Linked DNA regions of Homo sapiens: region 1 is linked to region 2. Evidence: promoter capture Hi-C in human tissues and cell types (Jung and others, 2019). All regions are on one chromosome and are shown on one strand. Each heading gives the region's core, a stretch centred on a gene start or on the middle of the fragment in contact. The rest is flanking DNA. Distances are from core to core; before and after follow the strand shown. Region 1 has its middle 70 kb from the start of PSG3. Region 2 holds the start of PSG9 (pregnancy specific beta-1-glycoprotein 9).

Region 1 (5,230 bases), core at 377-2,876, 600 kb after region 2:
GGTTGGAGAAACTAGAAGAATTCAGGGTCCAGTCCAGTCTACAGGTGGATTATAAAAACTCAAAAACAATGAACAGAGCTGAAATCTCATAAAAGTTGTGCTACAGTTTTTCTTCTCAACATAATTTTTCTCTCTATGGGCATCTCTATTTCTACCAAAGATAATACCACTAAGGCAAATTTGTTTGCAAAATAGATTGAGTCTCATCAAACTTGGCCTTTACATTAAGTGCAGAAAGAGTTGTAATGGATCACATAGGCTCTTCTTAAACTTTGCTTTGCTGGATATTTTTTATAAGGAATCTCAGATTAAACTTTCAAAAACCTCTTGAGACCAGGAAGCCAAACCAAGGCTTACTTTACACTTGCCTGCAGTATCTGTGGTTTCATTCTATTTATATTTTCAAATGTAATATCCCAGTCAAAGCCTTGGTAATATAACCAATGTTTTCAAATGTATCCTGTTATAAAGAGAGCAGATATTTATTGAACTTAAGCAAATATCTGTATTACCATAAACATATGAATACTCATGAATAGTTGCCCAATTCTAAGGCAGTCAGGTAGGGAGCAAAAGTAAATGCTTCAATTTTTGTTCACAAAAGTATACTTTGTCAAATTACTGTGTGCTATAGATTGGTTAAAAGAAAAAATTCCATAAATCTGGAAAACAAACCACTTAAAGAATCAGCAAAACTCCAAACAAAAAATCATAAAAACATTCTCATCATTATTATTATTTAGTCCAATGAAATTGAGTTTTTTCCTGCTTGGTCTTGGCTGGCAATTTCATGAAGGTATCAGAAGAACTTGGAAGTTCTTAGACAGTCCAGTGGTATCTTAAATTCATCAAAAACTTGTATTAAAGAATCCTTGTCAGAGCCTTTTCTGTAAATCTCCTTGAAGCAAGAAGCAATTTTGGACTGTAGCTGATTGGAAATACTTTGAGGAAGAATCAAAACAACTGTCTATGAATGACAGATTTAAAATAACTATGGTTAAAAATCTGATGAGCGTTCATTAAGATAAAGACATGGCTCATATAGAAATCTAGTTGCTTCTGTGGCATATGACATTATGACTGATATTAGATTTCTATGAATCTCATATAATTTTTGGAAGACTCATATCAGTAACATACCCATAAATTAACATTGAGAATACACGCCAAGTTTGATGAGACTCAATCTATTTTGCAAACAAATTTGCCTTAGTGGTATTATCTTTGGTAGAAATAGAGATGCCCATAGAGAGAAAAATTATGTTGAGAAGAAAAACTGTAGCACAACTTTTATGAGATTTCAGCTCTGTTCATTGTTTTTGAGTTTTTATAATCCACCTGTAGACTGGACTGGACCCTGAATTCTTCTAGTTTCTCCAACCCAATTTCTCCTATGGAATCAGTAAGAACAAGATCTGCTGTGTTCCTGAAGCCCTATAAGCTGGAGGGGGACAACTCAATGTAAATTTCATGGGAAAACCTTCATGTCTGAGGTATGGGCCACTCAGAGCTCACCAAAATATTTGACACCATAACTAGAGGCACTTAACTGCAAACCAGGACAAGAAGTTGATGACCTCACAAACTTATCATTTGACAATGCTTCCCATATAATTTAACATATCAAATAAAGTGGCTTTTCCATTTAGCTTGTGTTTCTTAACTGGATTACTGAGTTCTCGGTGTAGCCCATTAACAAATATGGCCAACAAAGTATAGGCTTATGTATGTTGAAAAACCTCCCTAGGTCATCTAGCTAAAAACCATTAATTTAGCCCTACGTCCTACCTATTTAAACAGGAGAGTTCACCATCCTGGTTACACATTAGTAGCATCTGGGGAAGCTTAAAAATTATCAATGCCTGGGTCCCACGCCAGACCACTAAATCAGAAGGTATGGGGAGTGAGGGCTTCAGCATCCATTTTTAAAAAATGTTTCCCTGTGATTCCAATGTGTGGCTGTATTTCCCATCAGATTTATCTGAATTCTTGTGGCATTCATTTTGTTCTATTTTGGTATTATAATTACTTTTTTTTTCTTTTTGGCTGTAGGTTTATTCAATGCAAAATAATCCTCTCCAATTTTTCTGAGGTGGTTGACCACGTCCACATCCAAATCCGCCTCTAAACTGGAATTTGGTTGCTGACCCGGCCCCAGCCTCGGTTTTCTTGTCGGCACCAGGGGGCACAGCACTCCGTCTGTAGGTATCTCTGTCGGTTTCCTCTCTTTTGAGTCTTGCAGGTGGCTCACCCTCCAGACCTTTAGGCGGAGGCCTGCCAGTCTCTGGACGGTTGTGGCGTAGGGTGGCAGGCACAATCTCCAGGGGCAGATGAAGATAATCACGGAGATACTGGATGCCTTCATTGGTAAGGTACCAGTAGAAATGTCTCCAGGCAAACTGTTCCTTCACGTAGTCTCAGGACTTGAGAGACTGCATGGCCTTCATGACATGAAGGTTGGGCACATTCTTGTCTGCCAGCTCCGGGTGCTTAGGCATGTGGACATCCTTCTTAGCCACCGTGACTCCTTCCTTAAAAAGGAGTTCATGGCTGGGCGCCGTGGCTCACACCTGTAATCCCAGTACTTTGGGAGGCCAAGGCAGGTGGATCTCGAGGTCAGGAGATCGAGATCATCCTGGCTAACACAGTGAAACCCCGTCTCTACTAAAAATACAAAAACAAAATTAGCCGAGCGTGGTGGCGGGCGCCTGTAGTCCCAGCTACTCGGGAGGCTGAGGAGGGAGAATGGCGTGAACCTGGGAGGCGGAGCTTGCCGTGAGCCCAGATCACTCCACTGCACTCCAGCCTGGGCGACAGAGTCAGACTCTGTCTCAAAAAAAAAAAAAAAAAAAAAAAGTTCATAAATGGCAATCCGACTCTTCTTAGGCATTAACATCTTGGTGGCTGTAGGGTCCAGGGCCGGAGTTTATAATTACTTTTAAGGTCCTATCTTGTGTCTTAGGCTTTATGATCCCTGGGGTAGGGACCTTGCCTTCTTCATTTCTGTATTTTTCATGAACACATAAATTGGTTATCAGGGAAAGCTTCCCAACCACATGTATATTGTGTCCTAAGTCTTAGATTCACACATTAATGCTAGAGTCATTGTTCTCCATGAGGTCAGAGGTTGCTTGTGATGAAGGCTGTGGGTAACTTTGCAGTGCAGATGATGGAGGGCGGTCACCCTGTTTTAGGCATACAATTTGAACTAATAATCCCTTGTGTATATGGCATGGGTGGGCAGGCATATGTAGGGAGACAGATGTAATTAGGATAGAGGAATTATATAAGGGAGTGGTGGTAAAGGAAGTAAGAAGGATTAGTAAAGAGAAGAAATGTAAACTTATCTAATAGGCCAGAGTCGGCCCCTGTAGATTCTTGAGTAGGTGAGTGAACTAGATTTTAGGAAGGTAATGAGGAAGTCATATGCAAGGAAGATTTCAAATACTGGAGACAAGGAGTCAAGCAGGAATTCAAGCAGTTGTTGAGGTCTATGGGAATGGAGAGAATGACACAAGTGAGAGATGTTAAGAAAGGATCAAAAGACTTTCATAGTGTATTGAATCTGGGAAACAAATGAGCAGAGGCTGGGGATAATCACATCTAAGAGACAGTGGGGTACAGGCAGCATGCAGACCAGGGAAGAAGAGACCTGCAGGAATTAGTGCTGAGAAGCAGGAGTTTATTGGGAGGAGGAGGAGATCCAGTCCTGGGATATAGGTCCCTCTCCCAAGCATGGCAGTCAGCCCTGCAGGAAACAGGACAAGAGGAAAGGCCATCATACCCGCCAGTCTTCCTGAAATGCAGAAACTACACCAAAGCTGCTATATCAGAGCCACCCTGGCCAGTACTCCAATCATGATGCTGACAGTGGCCTTAGTTGGGAGGACAGGAGAACTTCCCTGTGCTGAAACATCTGTAATGGAAGGAAAATAAAAGAAGGAATAAAAGTGATGTTGTTTTACACTGGGGTGCCCCAAGAACCAGCTCTCGGCATGGAGTACTGTACTTGTTCCTTCAAGGAATAAATTATTTGTATAAGAAGGCTGATGAGAGATGATTAGCCAACCACATTTTTGCCATTTTTTCCTTCTCTCACCATGTTTCTAGGTTGGTGATAGTCTTCTGTCATTCCTTCCTGGTCTTTCTGCACTCAGATATTTTTGAAGGCTTTGGGATGTGAGAAAGGCTGATGGCTATTTGCTATGTCATTAGAACCTTCCACCTTTTCATGGTTGCATCTTTTTCTCAGTGTCTCAGTTTTGGCAGCCATGAATTAGACCCTGTCAGTCTCTATGGCAGGGAGGTGCTTGACAGAAGGGCCAGGTCAGTGCGTTTCAAATTCACTACCTCCCTTGCAGAGACCTCACTTCCCAGGGCCTCCCAGCAGGGGTATGAAAGCAAGCCCAGTTCTGTGAGACTCTGTGTAACTCTAATGGGTGACTGGTGAAGGCACTCCCCTTCAGCCCTGCAGAAACTCTTTTTGAACTGCATTGCTATCCAAAATTTCTTTCTCTTTATCTTTCACAGAAATCAGATCTGCGTTGTGGTCTGAGAGCTCTCTCAGGCTTCTCTCACACTTGCCTTCCTTTCCCTCACAGGCATTTACCCTAATAAATTCTCTTCCATGTCTAATCCACTATTGGCTGCATCTGAATGGGTTAAAAACTAACATTCCAGGCTTGATTCTTTGCACTTAGTTTTTTCTCTCTCTCCCACATGTAGTCAGTAACAGTGTCCTAGTATTTTCTGTGTTACCTCTTTTTCCATATTTCCATATGTGTGTGTGTGTTGGGAAAAGGGATTGTGGGGTGCCTGTATAAACTGGCCACAAAAATATGGGACAATAAGCTGTGGAAAGCCACAAGAGGCCTCTGAGGAGGAAAGCCTCCTAATTGCCATCATATTCCCATGTTCAGAGTGAGACCTGCTTTCTTATCTATAAACACTGTGTTCAAGGAGAAAGACACTCCTTTGAAACACTGGAATGTGGACAGACATGCAGGTTCCCAGTTAAGCCCACTCCCACTAGCTACTCTCCGATAAGTTAAAGATATGCTGTTTGAGCGCAAAGGAGATTCATTTAAACTGCTATTGCTATAGATTACACCTATGACATACTGCCTCCCTTTCACTGTTTTGCCCTGAACATCTGCTTCTTAGATCTAAGTAATTGTACTCAATAAATAGTATGGAGACCAGAGCTTGGCACCTTTTGCAGCCTCCATTT
Region 2 (5,955 bases), core at 2,380-4,879:
CAATGAGACACGACAACTCACCTACAAAACTGGCTACCATTCTTTTAAAATGTTAAATAACAAGTACCAGTATTATGTAGAATTTGGAATCTTCATACATTGCTGGTGAGAATATAAAAAGGAGAAACAGTTTTGCTTTTCCTCAAAAAGCTAATCATAGAATTCTCATTTGAAACAACTTCCATTCCTAGGTATATACCCAAAGAATTAAATCCAGGGACTCAAACAGGTACTTGCATGGGAATGTTGATTGCAGCATTATTCACAAAATATAAAATATGAAAACAATCCAAGTGCTCCTCAACACATCAATAAATAAATATGGTGACACATACAACAGAATGTTAATCTGCCATAAAGAGGAATGAAGCTCTGATACCCACTGGAACATGCATGGACTTTGGAAATATTATGCTAAGTGAAATATGTCAGAAACAAATTAACGTAAGTGTATAATTCCATTTATATTAGACATCAAGAATAGGCAAATTCATAGAGACAGAGTAGAGATGATCAAAGTCTAGGGTGGAACATACAAGGAGGTATTGTTTAAAAGATACAAAGTTTCAGTTTAAAATGATAAAAATTTTCTAGGGAAAATAGTGGTGATGGTAATTTAACACTGTGTATGTGGTTAATTTCACTTGATTGTGCATTTTAAAGTGGTTGAAATAGCACATTATTCACAGAACTGTGAAAAATAGATTTCTATTATATCGTTCACCCAAGCTAAGGTGTTTGTTATGGCAGCTGAAGCCCATGAATACATCATCTGACCCAGTGTGTCAATGAAACACATCAGTATTTCAATCAAATTAGCTGGAAGCTCCTGTCCCCAGGAGAATCAAAGGCCCCAAAACAAGAGCTCCAGCAAGGGCTCAACCAGCACAGGTCCCATAGGGCAGCCTCAATGTCAGGCCCTGGATGGCATGTGAGGCAACAGCAATACAACCACAACGTGAAAATGTAAGTATTTTTACTACTTCCAGACACTAGGGAGCACTCGGCACACCTGGAGACCACAGACACAGTGGTCAGTGACCCCATGCAGGGAGGAGAGAAGAGACCTGTAAGCGAATGGCTTTATTAAGTCCAGGGTGTTATCTGACAGGTTTCCAGCAGGGAGCTTTAATGGATGTGTTCAAAGCAAGCAGCAAACACTGGGACCAGGAGCTCACGCTGTGACTGAGAGGTAGTCACTTTAAATGTGAGGGCGAATGTCAGAATTATCAGTTTAAAGAAAGCAGCTTGAGAGAGGGGAGCCCAGCACACCAAGCAGGAGAGATGCCTCTAAGATTTTATCTCTGGACACCAACTGGAGCCACTTGAACCAGACACAGTATTGAAAACTACCATGGTGACCAAGCCCTGCCTCTGATTTGAGGCAAATAAACTTACACCTTAAAAAATGAATGCCAAGGCAACATGACACTATGAGCATCATGACATCCAGGGACACCAGCAGGGTGTGGTACTGTGCCCTGGAGTCAGAATCCTGGGTTCTGGTCCCTGGGAGTGAGAAAATGAAAATGACTTGTCCTTGCCCCCCTGACGTTGATCTTCCCACCCTGCTGCTCCCTCTTCTGCTCTCAAACCCATGTGCAGTGCTCAGCCCCAGGCATCACTGCCCCCAGGGTATTCACAGTGTTGCCTACTGCACACAAACACAAACTCACAGAAGGTGACAAAAATCTGCGTTTGGGACATCTGATTGTGAAAGAGGGATAACAGTGAACGTAGAGCCACAGAGACTGGGACTCACGGGGCTGGAAGGTGAAGGAGCTGTAACATAACATATGTGTGACCTCGTGTGAAGTGGAATAAAACATGCAGCCTGGCCTGGGATTGCTGCCGTTCACACTTCCCTCCCTGTCCACCAGAGGGCGACAGAGTCCCTCCCAGCCTGGAGCCTTCCCAGGGGATGCCAACCTCCCTCAGCGGAACCCACAGCCCAGCAGGGTCCACCCTCACCAGGGTCACTTCGGCCCAAGTCCTCAGCACCCTCCATGCTCCCCACACGGACTCTGTCAGTTCCTCCCTGACCTGGCGGCCGCCAACCTAACACCACTCCCTCTGCAGGGAGCTCCTGCCCCACACACCTGCTCCTTCCCTGGGCCCAGCTAAAGGCATCTCCCAGGGCAGCGCTGGTGCACGCGACGCCACACTGGGCGCTTTCCCCTCGTGAACTCTCTCCATCCTCATCAACTCTTTCTGTCACTGCTCCCTAAATGCCTGCCCCTGCTCCATCTGTCCTGTTCTCTGGGGCTTCCCAGGCCAAGCCTAGCGCCGACACAGAACAGCGGCTGCCTGAGGGCCCACAGCCTCCCCGGGAATCAGCCAGGCACCCTGTCACCTGCCTGCCCCCTGCACCCCAGGGGGCTCAGAGAGCGTGTGATGGTCATTCACAGGTACCATCCGGGATGTGGCCACCTACCCCCAGCTGTCCCTTGGGAAGACAGACCTCTCCTGTGTACTTGCGTGGAGAAGGGCGGTGTTATTGCTCTTTGCTCCCAGAACACAACTCACCCCCACCCGCCCTCTCAGGTGTGAGCAACGTCCCTCCAGAGAGCCTCTCTGGTCACTGCCTGTTCCTCCTCTACAGACAGCAGCTTGGCCAGGTCAAAACCCTCAGGACAGACCCCTGGGTGTGTCAGCACATGGAGGGCTGAGCCCATCATGGCCACGGAGTAAGTCGGGATGAATCTCTCCAGCTCTGAACCCCTGCTCTGTCCCAGGCTCCCCCTCCTGCGTCTCAATGAGCCATGTCCCGCGGGGTTCCTGGGTAACTCCCCACTTCCTCCTGCACCACCACGGGGAAGGTGTGGTGACCACAGGACAATCAGCTGGGCAGAGAAGAGAGGACATCAAAGATGGTCAGGGAGAACATGAGAAACCCTGAGCTCCAGCTCAGCCGCCAGACCCCAGGGAGCCATAGACTGACAGAGAACTGTCCCTTTGACTATGGGACTCACAGCCCCCACTGAGCAACCAGCACAGGCCTCTCCTCCTAAGAGGCATGAGAGATTCACCCTGCACACCTCCAGGAAGGACAGTTTCCTCTGGGACACCCAGGTCCTGAAAGTCCATCCTTGGAAGCTGCAGTCAAGCTTGACACGATTAGAGAAAGGAAGGGTCCCTCTCACCAGGCAACACACAGCTCACCCACAGCACAATGGGGTGTCACTGTGACAGGGACCTGGTGCATCTCCAGCCTCCTGCACTGAAGGGGAGAGCCAGATGGGGATGAAAGAGGGTAAAAGGCATGAATGTGCACCCCAACCCAGAGCCATGGGGACAGCAGGAGGCTGAGGCCCAGGACTGTGCTTGCCCAACCTGCAGGGTATGTGCCTGACTGTGTGGGTCTGTGTGTGTCTCTTCTGTGTGTGTGTGTGTGTGTGTGTGTGTGTGTGTGTGTCTGCACAAAGTGTGTGTTGAGGTTTGGTGAAAGAATCACTGCTGAAAAAGGCAGAGGCCTCCACAACTCCCAGGGACCTGAAACACAGACAAAAGGAAAAACAGAAGGAGGGACAAGGAGGCAGGACTGAGAGAGAAGGGGACAGAGAGGTGTCCTGGGACTGACCCCGCCCATGAGCTTGAGAAGTGCTCCTGCCCCGGGAAGAGGCTCAGCACAGAAGGAGGAAGGACAGCACAGCTGACAGCCGTGCTCAGACAGCTTCTGGATCCCAGGCTCATCTCCACAGAGGAGAACACACAGGCAGCAGAGACCATGGGGCCCCTCCCAGCCCCTTCCTGCACACAGCGCATCACCTGGAAGGGGCTCCTGCTCACAGGTGAGGAGAGAACTTCCTGGGAGAGGACAGGGGGAGGAAGCGGAGTGACTGGATGGGGTCTCCTGGAGAGGATGGGGTTGTAAAATAAAAGAAGCCAGCTCTTAGGGAGGCTGAGGTGGGTGGATCACGAGATCAGGAGTTCAAGATCAGTCCGGCCAATGCAGTGAAGCCCAGTCTCTCCTAAAAATATAAAAAATTAACCAGGTATGGTGGTGTACTCCTGTAATCCTAGCTACTCGGGAGGCTGAGGTGGGAGAATCATGTGAACCCGGGAGGCAGAAGTTGCAGCTAGCCGAGATACCGCCACTGCACGCCAGCCTGGGCGACAGTACGAGACTCCGTCTCAAAAAAAAAAGAAAAAAAGGAAAGAAGGCTCTGTTGCAGCCTGGATAGGGGAAAATACACCAGAGAGGGACAGGGGTCAAAAGAGGAAAGTCACATTGAACCGGAATTGGTAAGAGGTAGGAAAATCTTAAGTGTTCTGTTTTCCTGATTAATCATCCGGGGCCACCACATTTTGAAAAATGATAATAATAACTATATCAGATGACACTTCAAATAAAAATATAAGCAGGACATGAAACACTATCCTCAGCAAAAAACCTCAACAATTGGGGGAAAAAAAAACACCCAGGGCATGGAGGGCCCTGAGAACTCTCACATCTACAGGAGTCTGCAGCCTGTCCCAGGCACTGGGGTGCAACCAGGATCACAAAAGTCCCTGTCCTCACGGAGCTCACGCTGTCATGGGGAGGAAGACAGACATGCGAAGAGATGTAGAATGTGAGATCAGGTGTTGACAAGAACCCTGGAGGGAGCAGAGCAGGGAAAGGTCAGAAAGGGAAGACCCAGGGTCTCTGAAGGAGGTGTCAGGAAAGAAGTCTAAGGATGCCCTGATGTGAGCAGGACCTGAGGGCAGTGTGGAGGGGGCCGTGTGGACCCCTGGGGAAGAGGATTCCAAACAGAAAAATGCCAAGGTCAGAAGTGTTGAAGGAATGGGGGTCATGCTGCTGACCTTGACCTAGTAGGACAGTAGGACACACACACATACACATACACAAACACACATGCCCGTTTTTTGTGTGTGTTTGTTTGTATGTGTGCGTGTGTGTATCTTCAAGGCTGAGGATGGAAGAGACCTTCTCAGGACCCAGGGCCCCATCTTTTCACCACAATACATAGGTCTCAATATTAACTGATGCTGTCTCCCCCTCCTAGCATCACTTTTAAACTTCTGGAACCCGCCCACCACTGCCGAAGTCACGATTGAAGCCCAGCCACCCAAAGTTTCTGAGGGGAAGGATGTTCTTCTACTTGTCCACAATTTGCCCCAGAATCTTCCTGGCTACTTCTGGTACAAAGGGGAAATGACGGACCTCTACCATTACATTATATCGTATATAGTTGATGGTAAAATAATTATATATGGGCCTGCATACAGTGGAAGAGAAACAGTATATTCCAACGCATCCCTGCTGATCCAGAATGTCACCCGGAAGGATGCAGGAACCTACACCTTACACATCATAAAGCGAGGTGATGAGACTAGAGAAGAAATTCGACATTTCACCTTCACCTTATACTGTGAGTGATTCCACATGATCCCTGGGTGTTGGGGGGAAGGGGTCATTTCTACTTCACACACACAGGATTGTCAGGCCTGGACTCTGCCTGTGTCACTCTCTGCATTATGTCCCATGCTGGGGTTTGGGCATTTAGTGCAGGACACACACAGAGGAGACAAATTTCAACAGATCAGAATTCCTTTCCCGCATCCAGACCCTGCAGACACTCGCTGCAGAGGAAGGACAGTCTGATGGGGGGACTCAGCAGGAGGAGATCAGTCTCAGCCAAGCACATCATGCCCTCTTCATAAATTTGACCCTGAGAAAGACCCTGGAGAACTGAGTAGGGCTTGGCTTGAGGGGACCCCTGAGATACTCTCAGAGAAGCTCAGCCCTAGAAGCCTCAACCCCAGACCCCTGTCCCTAAATCCTTGCTCCAGTTAAGCTGAGGAGCCTGTGCCAGTGCTGGGTTGTGGCTTCTTGGGCAGGCCTTACTGGGACCAAGAATTTACCAGCTGTCTGAGGACTGTGTCTCCTGGAGCTGTTCACCAGCCAGGGCTCAGCCCTCAGAGTCTCATCTGGGCAAGGACAGAGCTTTT

The links. Contacts are between HindIII fragments. The study calls those that stand out against the background at their distance.
Region 1: a fragment that was not itself captured here is called in contact with the fragment with the promoter of PSG9 in region 2 in 4 of the 25 tissues and cell types used here (heart left ventricle, mesendoderm cells, stomach and 1 more).

Annotation. Positions count from the first base shown.
Region 1 is chr19:42,667,671-42,672,900 of GRCh38, reverse strand. It overlaps the pseudogene RPS10P28. Among named protein-coding and RNA genes, the nearest start is that of PSG3, 70 kb to the left of the region's middle. The HindIII fragment of the contact is 6,603 bases long and covers 1-4,927 here.
Region 2 is chr19:43,267,204-43,273,158 of GRCh38, reverse strand. PSG9 (pregnancy specific beta-1-glycoprotein 9) reads left to right here and starts at 3,629. Exons shown (of 6, transcript NM_002784.5): 1 at 3,629-3,791; 2 at 5,010-5,375. The coding sequence starts at 3,728. The HindIII fragment of the contact is 8,927 bases long and covers 1-5,955 here.